3 separate regions of the Homo sapiens genome follow, and all the other regions are linked to region 1. The links are contacts of gene promoters, found by promoter capture Hi-C in blood cells and fetal thymus (Javierre and others, 2016). All regions are on one chromosome and are shown on one strand. Each heading gives the region's core, a stretch centred on a gene start or on the middle of the fragment in contact. The rest is flanking DNA. Distances are from core to core; before and after follow the strand shown.

Region 1 (3,809 bases), core at 937-3,436:
TGTGTGCACAGCAGGCGATGGCCTTTCCATTTTTCTTCATTGGCACAGGATGACTTGGGGCCTTTCCCCAACTCCAGGGCACTCTTTGACTCCCACTGACCCCACACCAGCCCAAATATCAGGCCCAGCTCCCAGGCCCACCCTGTGCTAGGCCTCCACCAGTGTCTACAAAGCTGACCACAGACACCATCAAGCCCTCCCCTGAGCAGCTGGAGCTCACTTGAACCAGCCCTGCCTCCCAACCAGTGCTCCCTTGCCCCTATTCTAGACGCAAAGAGGAATGAGAAGAGCCTGCTGTGAGCTCCCTGACACCCTGCTCCTGGCCTTGGTCTGTCCACCAATGCCCAAGACCGGCCCCTCCTGCGCCCTCACCATAGCTGATGCAAACAGCAGACTCAGTGGACAGAGGCGCAAATATTGACCAAACCCACTCTTGGTGTTTGCTGTTGGCCTGGACACTTCCTTTTCTTAAATATTTCCAGCACAAGAGCCATTTGGGTGACAGCCAGTAGACATAAAAGAGGGAGATTCTCACCAGCCCATCCCAGATCTCAACCGGCTCCTGACAGCAATGGCAAGCACCGTTTGGTGAGCACCTGCTATATGCAGAATGTTCTGCCAGCCACTTTGCCTGCATCCGCAGGGATGGGAGCTGGTTCTGCTCAGCCCTGTTTCCAGCACCTGGACCATACTAGGTGCATAAATATTTGTTGAATGAATAAATGAATGAGTATACATTTGAAAGACCCTTGTAACAATTGTAGTGGTGGCATTTCAGAGTTTCCCCTTCACTGAATATTCTCAGGGGTTTTGCATTGGTGTCCTGTTGCTGCAATAATGTATTATCACAAACTTAGTGACTTAAGACACAATTTATCATGTTACCATTCTGGAGGTCTGAAGTCCCAGATGGGTCTCCCTGGGCTAAAATCAAGGAAGTATTGGCAGGGCTGTGTTCCTTGCTGGAGGCTGTAGGAGAGGAATTGTCCACCTGCCTTTTCCAGCTTCTAGAAGCTGCCCTTATTCCTTGGCTCCTGGTCCCTTCCTCCATCTTCAAAGCCAGCATGTTGGGCTGAGTGCTTCTTGTGCTGCCATCTCCCTGCCTCCCTCTTCCATTTTTAAGGACCCTTGTCATTACATTGCACCCACATGGGTAATCTAGGGTATTCTTCCCATCTCAAGATCGACTGATTAGCAACTTAAATTGCTCTTCTAGTTTTAACTCCCTTTTGCCTTGTGACTTAACATATTTACATGTTCAGGTTTTAGTGTGTGGGCCTCTTTGAGGGACCATCGTACCACTTCCCATTGGTAATTAGCCTGCAATTTTAAGCAACTGCCACCAGGGGGCAAAAGTGAATTCATTTTAGCTTTGCTATCCAAATAGTCAAGCTCCCTACAGGCAGGGTGAACAGAAAAAACTTAGCCCGACATTTCCACTCGGTTATGCTTTTATTTTCCCCAGTAAAAAAGTAGAACTTTATTTTTGGACATAGAGTCTCACTCTGTTGCCCAGGCTGGGTGCAATGGCGCGATTTCTGCTCACGGCAACCTCTGCCGCCTCCCGAGTCAAGCAATTCTCAAGCCTCGGCCTCCCGAGTAGCTGGGATTACAGGCACACACCACCACACCCAGCCAATTTTTTGTATTTTTAGTAGAGAAGGGGTTTTGCCATGTTGCCCAGACAGGTCTCAAACTCCTGAGCTCAGGCAATCCACCCGCTTCTGCCTCTCAAAGTACTAGGATTACAGGCATCAACCACCGGGCCCAACAAAAAGTAGAACTTTATTAAAGCAACAACACATGCAATGTTATTTTGTGTTATGCACAATGTCCACCAGTGAGAAGCTCAGCATTACAAAATGCATTCAGGTGCAACCTAAGAAGGTGAAAAGCCTGGGAAGCTTGGGGCAGGAAGGGATCTAGGAAACAAGGAAAAGCATGGTTGGGTTACTGGAGCTTCAGCTCTCGCCCCTGTCCAGCTTCTGAGACCCCAGCATGGCCCTTCCTGTCTTGATGCCTCAATTTCCCCATCTTAAGAAAGGAAAGTGGGTCACAATGGCTTCCTCTGGGGGAGGTTCTAGGGCCAAGCTGGAGACTAGCCCCATCCCCTGCCCCTCCACCCACCTGCTCTGTGAGGTCACAATGCCAACTGCTCCACTGATCCTGGCAGATTCCACTTGGCACTTTTCAGGGGACATTCAGAGGCATCAGCCCCTTCCTCCTCACCAGCTCCCAGAGTTCCCATCTCCATCCCCAATCCTAAAGAAGGAAATCGATGCCACGGTCCTCAAGGAGCCCTGGGGACCCAGGCGCCCTACTCGAAGATGTGGCCCACAATCCCAGACCCCGGAGGTGAGGATGGCAGCCCCTCCCTTTGCCCAGCCCTTTACAGTTTACAAAATGCTGCCCCTCCACCCTGTCCTTGGAGATGAGTGGCATTGTCAACTGTACTGTACAGAGACAGCCACCAAGACCAGAGAGGTTTGGCAGTGGTATTCCCAAAGTCTCCCAGCCAGGAAGTGGTGAAGCAGCCATCCTTCCAGCACGCATTTATTGAGCATCTACTGTGTGCCGGGAAATGCACAGAGGACGGGGAACACGGTGTGGCACCAGTCTGATGTGCTCCGTTCCCTCATGGAGCTCACGGTCTAGTGCAGGAGACTGGTATGAAAGAAGGAAACAAGTATTTCGCCATCTTTATCTGTCAGAAAGCCTCTGAATGCAGGTGACAGAAATTCCAACTTAAAATGATGCCTATCTCTGGGCACCCAAATCTGGGTGTATATCCCAAGAGAGTATACCAAACAATCCCCAAGGGTGAGAAAAGAAATAACCAGGCTAGAATGTATGTCTTTCATCCTCTTTTAATTTATATTATTCAGGAATGTTACCATAAATCTGTACATTTGGGAAGGGTAAACAATGTATTAGTACAATTGGGTGTATATATAATTTATTAATAAACCAATATAAATACTCTGAGGTGGTATAAACAAAAATGTTTAAAGACCTTTGACTTAAGAAATAAGGGAAAATTTTAAATCTCACATATCAAGAGGTCCCAAGGTGCAGGGGGCTCCGGAGTGTGTTAATTCCTCAGTTCTGCCACCCAAGACCCAGGTTCCTGTCATCATTCTGCTCTTTTAGCCCCCTCTCATGGTCACAAGATGGCCACCACAGTTTCAGGTGTCACGCAGAAATGTGGCGTCTAGGGGAAGGAGAATAAGCATCGTTTTCTGTGGGTCTCATTTAGCTAATCCTAAACCTAACTTTTCCCCCAAGTCCCTTACCTCGTAACCACCCCCCTACCTCACCCTACCTCACCCCTGCAGACTTCCTCACCCTTGAACCAATCACAGCACAGGGAATGGGAGCACGACAGCAGGCTTCGACCAATCAAAATGGCCTAAAATCACATTGGGTAGGAGCAGACAAAGGAACAAAACCAAGCTTCTGCCAACCTCGGGGACATGGCGACAACCGCCTGTGACTGCCACAGCAACCTGGGTCTTTTCCTTGATGGATACCTGGATTTGGGGTCAGCCAGACCTGGGTCTGTCCCTGAATCACAGGCTGGTGGTGTTGGGAAACCTTCTCTGTACCTCAGTTTCCCAATCTGGAACGTGGTATGCACATTCCAAGGACACTATGTTCCTCATAATTGTAAAATGCGACTATGAATCTTATCATCCCCAGGATTGCCCAGCGAGGCCGGAACACCAGCAGGATGGCAGAGGACACCTCCCCAAACATGAGTGAGCAAGGACAGGTGCCCTGGTATTTTCATGGGCAGCTGAGGGGCTGAG
Region 2 (3,809 bases), core at 676-3,175, 240 kb before region 1:
CTGTGAGCCAGATAAACCTCTTTTCTTTAGAAAGTACCCAGCCTCAGGTATTTCCTTATAGCAACACAAAATGGACTAAGACATCCGCCTCAGATGCAAGAACGAGCATCCTGGAAGATGCCGAGACTAGGGACACAGTACAACCTTGTGATTCTTGCTAAGGGGCACAAATTGTTCAAAGAGAGGAATTGGGATACATTAACTGAGGGCTAGAAACTGCCCTGGTGTGGCAGATTGACCACAACAGGCCTCTGGCCTCCTGCCATGGGCACTCATGTCCTCATTGCCATTGACACCTACTCAGGCTGTGGTATTACCATTCTAGACCACCATGTGAACTCTGAAACTACCATAGATGCTCTTAAAAAGAACTATGTCATGTTTTTGGATACCTGTGGGACTTTACTCTGACCAAAGAATATATTTTACTGCCCAAGCAACACAACAATGAGCTCAAACTCATGGAATGTGAGTTTGCACTCATATCACCTGCGGGCCAATGGAGCCAATGAATGATGGAGCGGTTAACTCAAGTAGCAACTGAAGAAAGGACATTAAGGTGGTCTGCTAATGGGCTGGTACCCTTGCCTGATTAGGGCAGGATGCACAGTAAATACTGCAGCACATGCTGGGAAACACTGAACTTGGTGGGGCTTGAGGTGGACATGGACTGGACAGTGCTTGATTAGGCTGTGCCTGTGAAATTCCAATCTCCGTGTTCTCAACCATTCTTTTTTTCTTTTTCCCTAAGGAGTGCACGTCTCTGGGGTAGTTTGTGGTTCAGGCTGTCATAATACCCCAGATGGGGCCCCCTAACTCTAATCTGGTGGTGATGCTTCCCCTGGGCACCTCTCTTTTATGGGACTCCACAGGGGTAGTGGATGAGACCAAAGAGTTCCAGGATGTTAGGGTCCCATTAGTGGCTCCAGGGACATCTGATCCTTCTACTCAGGTGGGCAACATTATCAGACCTGTTAAATTTGTGCAGTACATGATCTCCCTTCCTGGACTGGACAATTGAGGCTGAAAGTTCTGGGTCAAGCAGGAAGGGCAATGGGTGTCCACAGAGGTAGTCTCAGGATGGGGACACACAGCCTGGGTTGTAATACCTGGACAGCCAGCCAGCACCCCGATTAATAGACAGACACACCTCCAGCCACAAAGTATGAGAAGAGGGTAGAGGATGGGGAAACAAATCTTTCCCCTTTTTGTTTCATTAGAGTACCTAGTAGTGCCTAGATTGACAACACACTGGTGAAGATTAGCAGTGGCAGCCGTAGGTGGGGATTTGAAACATTGTGGACCTGTCACCCGTGTATTTGGAGCTTTCCCTCCAGGCATGAATAGTCCACATGTGACATATTGCCAATCTGATGGGGGCCCCAGTAGGAGAGTGACCCTCAGTGCGGGTTGAGATCCACAGGTACTGAATACCCTGTTCACAAAGCTTACCTTAAACATAGGGATATGTTCTAATGGGCTTTTCTTAGAGATTAGCAAGTTGGGCAGCATCCCATCTAAAGATTTAGAAAGGCTCCTGTGAGCTCCTGTGGGCTGAGCAGAGGTGGGTTTTATAGGTATAAAAGAAGAAGAAACAGGGGACAAAAAATAGATTGATCATCTCAAAGTTACTTTCCTTATAGGGTTAAGGAAGAGGGAACTTTCTTACCCTCTGGCTCAGGTAGACTTGGCCCCCTCTGGTTGGTTGGAAAACTGGCCTGTTACTAAAGTTTAGTTTGATTACATGATCCCATGCCTGAGTGGCTCCATTCTGGTTTGGTCTGGTCTGTTGGGCCTAGTGCAGGAGCTCAGTTCAAAACAGTGGCCTTTTCTAATTTTTATTTAACACAATTCTGCCTTAATCTTTACTCCTTACATAAACACAGCTCCCTGTAAGCACATGCCCTCCTAGAGCCCTAGGAGTATGTTGGAGATTTTCAAAGCTCATATAGATATCTTATTCCCCAGCTTTTCCTTGTCAGCTTTTTGGTTAGTTTTTTGTTTGCCCCAAATATTACATCCCCTCAGGCAGCTGTGGTGTTAAATAGTTGCCTCTGGTTATTTTTTGACAAATGTATTTGGGGAAAAGGTTGTTCAGACCAGGGGAGCTCTGCGTCAGGTCAAGTAATGACAATCATGAGAATGGGTCTTCCTGGGAAACCAATGGGCCGGTCAAACAATGACAATTCTCTGCGAATGAGTTGCTCTAACTCCCTCCTCACCTCTCCAGTGTCTACTGGGCTGCTGGTTCTCACAAAGATTGTGGGCTTTTCGTTTTCGAGTTGGCTGTGGAGCGGGAGTATGGGGAGATGGGAGAGGTTAAAATGCCACAAAGCTCTCTGTTCTTGCTGAGACTCCATAATTTGTATTGAATAAACTCTCCCCAGATTGCTACAAGCTTTGGTTAATTTCCAGAGCTCTGAAAATGTTAGTTAAGACCATTTCTGTCAGTTTTCTCATTGCTTTTACGTAGGAAAAAATTTTCAGAGACCTTTCCTTTGCCACTTTCACTGACATAATCCCAGAGAGTTTTAAAAATGTGTTTCCACTCTTTAAATAGCATAAATGTTTTTGACTAGCCTGGCCACCTGGCAGGATGTCTTGTATCCAGGGGAATTCTAGATTAGCTAATTAGAAATTGAACTTGTCAGAGAGGGGAGGACCCTTCTGTGGGCTATAGGAAGAAGTCCAGGGGAGCAGGGGGAAAATCATATCCAGAGATGGCCAGGGGATGGGTGTGAGGCAGGAACACGGTTCAGTACAATGGCCAGAGGGCAGCAGGCCCAGCACTGATGGTTCTAGATGTGTGTCCCTGGGCTCCATCCATCTCAGTTCTTGGGGCCTCAGACACAGGGAACTCTCAGTGCTGATCCAGTGCCTGCCCTGAGAGGACCTGAAGGTAGCTTATTCTTGGAGCCTCTCTAGCACGAGCAGGCCCCAGTTGCTGGCTTCCTATCTGGAAGGTCCTTCTGCATTTCCGGTCAGTGCCTAGGTGGACATTTCCAAGGCTCATTCAGCTGCTTGCTGGGAGTTAATTACTCATCTGAGCTCAGAGAACTTTTGTGGGTGTGGAATATGCTTTCTTTCTTAAATTCTCCCTGAAGACACATGATGGTGTCACACAACAAATCTCGAAGTCTGAGCTATGCAACTGTCCTTCTATGATGCCATGTTGATTGGAGGCAACAGTAGGTGGAGATAGTGGCAGGTCTGGACTTGATGATTGATGTCTGACAGGGGTTGGGGAATGGGTAGGTCCCCAGTTTAGAATCAGAGATTTGAGAAACATGAACTGGAATCTGCTCATTCTCACGAGCTCAACAAGGTCTCCAAAGAGCAAGGGACATGGTTTTCTGTAAAGTCTGGGATGTTTCCAGTCTTTCATTGGCCCTTTTGTCTCCCTGTGGCCTTGGGCAAGTCATTCACACAACCCCAAGGCCTCAGTATCTCATCTGTGTAATGAAAGGGTTGGACTAGTCCCTAAAGACCTCAACAATGAGAGTGTATGTATTTTTTATTTGAGGGGGGGTCAGAGTTCTTCAGTCTGGGTAGCCCCATTCTTTTTCCTTCTCACAGCCAGTATTTCATAAATCTTTTCTTTTCTTTCTTTTTCTTTCTTTTTTCTTTTTTTTTGAGACAGGGTCTTGCTTTGTCACCCAGACTGGAGTGCAGTGGCGTGAACATGGCTTATTTCACCCTTGACCTCCATGGCTCAAGCGATCGTCCTGCCGCAACCTCTCAAGTAGCTGGGACTACAGTCACATGTCACCATACCTGGCTAATTTTTCTTTCTCTCTATATATATATCT
Region 3 (3,809 bases), core at 762-3,261, 210 kb before region 1:
CAGACTCAGCTCCCAGGTCTGTAAAAGGATCACAGTGCAGACCTCAGAGCTATAGTGAGGATTAAAGCGAATCATGCTTGGGCCAGTCCTCCAAAACCATGTTATTATGATGATCCTCCTCCTTGTCCTTACGCCTCTGAGCCTTCCTCACCTGTAAACCAGGGAAGCTGATGGAGTCAGTGACATGGAGCATGAGAATCCCAAGATGGTTCCTGGGACACGTGTGCAATGAATGCAGGAGCCACCTCTATCAAGTACTTTCACGAATGAAATGCAACTCCAGAAGGCAGGCAGGAATGATAGAGAGGCTGAGATGGCAGTGAGGGTGTGATGGTCCTGGAGTGAGCTTGCGCGTGGCTGTTCAGATGGTGGGCTTTGCTGTCATTCATTCAATGAATAAAACCACTAAAATCAATGAACACTGAGTGTCAGGAGCCGTGGGCTCTGGGGATCCCACAGAGAGTGGTCAGGCAGGGTCCTTGTCCTCATGGAGCTCACATACCAGTGGGGAGACACACAGTCTTCAATTATCCCTGCAACTGAGCATATGATTATGAAATATGGCCCAGAGGTGAAGGAGGTGGGAGGTACTGTGAGAGGGCACAGGGAGGGGATACCTGGCCAATGGGGGAAAAGGGATGTCAGGAAAAAGACCTCCCTGAGGAGGTGGAGTTTCTTTAGCTGACATTCAAGGAAAAAACCCAGGGTGGCTGGGCACGCCACGCTGGTGCTCTCAGGAAGGATGGTGGTGGATTGAGGACAGCTCCTTAATGAGCAAATACTTGGAGGCTGGCGGGGCTGGCGTTTCTCCGTTGGGACCCGTTCCCTGTGTGAAGCCTGCTCTGTGGTCTATCTCATTCCGTCCTCATCCCACAAAGGTGAGGAGACAGGGACCCAGAGAAACCCAGCGGCTGCCTAAGCTCCCAGCCAGGAAGAGGCTGAGCTGGCATCCCAGTGGGCTGTCTTGCCTTCCCCAGAACTGCCTCAGACACTGTTTTCCTTGGACACTGGCGCTGTGGAACACCACTGAGCCTCACACATTAGCAGCCTCCTTCACTATTCCAAATAGCTTTCCTTAAAACAAGCTTCTTTACCTTCTTGGGGGACATTTTGAAAATGCACTGGAAGCTTTGGTTTGTCTTTTAGGAAAAAAAAAACTCACCAAGCCAAACAATGTTGCACACAGTACCAGGATTGCCATGGACCTCTTAAGGCATGCCCATGGGTTCAATGGTAAAACCCTTGCTCTCCTGGGAAACTGGCTTTCAAGGAGTTTGACTTTGAAAAAAATTCATTTATCCATCCACCCAACCATTATTTACTGTGGGCCAACTGTGTGCCAGGCACTGTGCTTGACTCTAGGGAATAACAGTCACCCTATTCCCCAGCAGCTTATCATCTGGTGAGGGAATCAGAACAAGGTGAAATAAACAAGAAACCAAATAACCATAAATTGTATTAAGGGGAAAAAGCTTACTGTAAGATTGGAAATAGCAAGGAGGCCACATTAGACCAGGATTAGGGAAGGTCTCAGGCGACATTTGAGCAGAGCCCAGGAGGAGAGGAGGAGATGGAGCCAGGCTTGAGTATAAAAATGTGGAAGGGGAGCCAGGCAGAGGGAACCATGAGGGCAAAGGCCCTCAGGTGGGAAAGAGCTCGGCAGGTTGGAGGAAGAAAGGAAGACAGTAGTGGCTGTCTATGGGGTGAGAAGTCTGTACCCATGTGCCCAGGGAGAGGGCCTGTCTCACATCCCTGGCTGCAGGAAGAGCTGTCCAGTGGGACAAGGAGGCAGGAACCTCCCTTGGCAGAACTCCGGGCCAAGCAGGCTTATGCACACCTGTGATCTCTAACGGCCAATTGGGGTGGCCACTTCCCCTCCTTGGGGCTCTAAGGAAATTCCAGGTCCCTAGCAAAAGGCAGAGGTCCCCAAACTCCAGGGAACAGCAGAGGAGGCAGAAGCATTAAATGCAGATTCCTGAATCTGATTTAGTGGGGGCTGGGGGGAGGTGCTGGGAGCTGCCTTTGGAATGAACACCCTAGAGAGATGATGCAGGGGGTTCAGTCCATACTTTGAGAGTTACTCTTCTAAGGAATGGAATTCATTATTCATCTAGTCATTCATTCATTCCATTCTTTTATATATATATAAAAGATATATATATATACACACACATATATATGTATATGTATATATATATACACACACACACACACACATATATATGTGTTTAACATACATATGCCTAACAACTGTACAGAACTAGGGGCTGGAACCTTAATCCAAAGGCGAATTTCCTTAAAATGGCAGGGGAAGAGAGAGTGGGGACCGTTTCTGAATGGCATATTGGGTTTCACAAAGGAAGAGTTGACCTTTTCTGGGTTCTGAGGGTAGCCTGGAGAGGGCAAAGGGAAAATGGAAATGCTGGAATTTCCAGGGGAGCATCACCGAATTTTGGAGGGAGAGATGGGACTTGTAAAAATGCAGATTCTTAGGTCACCTCTGATGAATTGAGTCAGGCTCTCTGAGGGGGATCCTGGGAATAAGCTTCTGGACAATTCTGATGCACACGGTGTGTGAAGATCACTTAGCTGAAATAATAACAGTGATACCAGCTAACAGTTATTGAGTGCTGACTGAGCTCCAGGGGCAAGCTAAGTGCTTTACCTGTAATGACTTATTGAATTCTCAACACAACCCTTTGCAGTAGGCACTGTTATTATTGGCCTCCTTTTGCAGAGGCACAGAAATGTTAAGTAAAATCCCCAAATCCACCCAGCTGGGGAGGGGTGGGGCTCAGATGGGAACCAGGTAGCCTGGCCTGCAGAAGGGAGCTCAGAGGAGCTGTTGCTCATTCCCCACCAACTGCTTCATCCCACACCCCATTCTGCTGCCCAACATGATCCTCAGCCCCCATTCCCCCAGGCACAAGCATTGCAAGGAGAGGCAGGAAGAATAATAAGGGCAGATGGATGTTGAGCCCTGACTCTGGAGACACTTGTCTAAGGACACACAGCTGATAATGTGGAGCTAGGATTTGAACTTGGGCTGCCTGGCTCTGATAGGCTCTACCTTGTTTCTGGATAAATTCACTTACAGCCCTTAACCTTCCCTCGCAGGGGTCTGCAAGCTTGTTCTGTCCGGCTGCATTTCCTCTTATATACTACAGAGGCCAATAAGATTCCGTGGAACACACATGGCAAATACCAACATTTTCAGTGAGTTGAACCACCAGATAGACTGAAGACTGCAGGTCTCACCATAACCATGAACACTCTGGACCACAAGGGGGCAGGAACCAACCTGTCAAGTCCCGGGGCTTACATAGCAGGAGTGTTCTCAGGAGGAAAGGAGCAAGGCAGGTCATTAAGGATAACCAGCCAGGCACAGCCTCACCTGCCCTTAAATGTCAGCCAGTAGGAAGAGGAAACCGGCATGGGTCCTTCTTTTAAAAATGCACATTCAACCTGTTTGATCATTAATTTTATTCTTCAGCCAACTTGGCTTCTCTTCTGCTTCCTGCTGCGTTTCTCAAAGGGACCAAACTTGCTTTCTCTCTTCTTCCATTTTCTGCTTTTGGATCCCAATCCCCCTTTTAGTAATTTTCTCCAACACATGTCACCCCATATTTGCTCATTTTGCTTTACCTGATCCTAAATTCTCGTGGTTGCTGGAGATAGCTGCAGCACTAAATTTCTTCACCCGGATCCTCTGGGAATTGGGGAGCTGTCTTTGGGAGAGGGATTGTGTGACTCTGAGGGTGACATTCTCCATGCTATTGTGCAGTGTGTGGCAGCTCCCAGGAGGGAGC

What was found. Contacts are between HindIII fragments. The CHiCAGO score rates a contact against its expected background, and 5 or more counts as called.
Region 2: a fragment that was not itself captured here is called in contact with the fragment with the promoter of SUN5 in region 1 in 1 of 17 cell types (endothelial precursors); the score reaches 6.8 in endothelial precursors.
Region 3: a contact is called between a fragment that was not itself captured here and the fragment with the promoter of SUN5 in region 1, in 1 of 17 cell types (M1 macrophages). The highest score is 5.2, in M1 macrophages.

The regions. Positions count from the first base shown.
Region 1 is chr20:33,002,810-33,006,618 of GRCh38, reverse strand. It overlaps SUN5 (Sad1 and UNC84 domain containing 5), which reads left to right and starts at 2,186. Exons shown (of 13, transcript NM_080675.4): 1 at 2,186-2,355; 2 at 3,700-3,758. The coding sequence starts at 2,279. The HindIII fragment of the contact is 1,549 bases long and covers 1,907-3,455 here.
Region 2 is chr20:33,245,282-33,249,090 of GRCh38, reverse strand. All of the region lies in intron 1 of LOC105372593 (a long non-coding RNA gene), which reads left to right. Among named protein-coding and RNA genes, the nearest start is that of BPIFA1, 11 kb to the right of the region's middle. The HindIII fragment of the contact is 951 bases long and covers 1,450-2,400 here.
Region 3 is chr20:33,211,491-33,215,299 of GRCh38, reverse strand. No RefSeq gene overlaps it. Among named protein-coding and RNA genes, the nearest start is that of BPIFA3, 4.0 kb to the left of the region's middle. The HindIII fragment of the contact is 1,073 bases long and covers 1,475-2,547 here.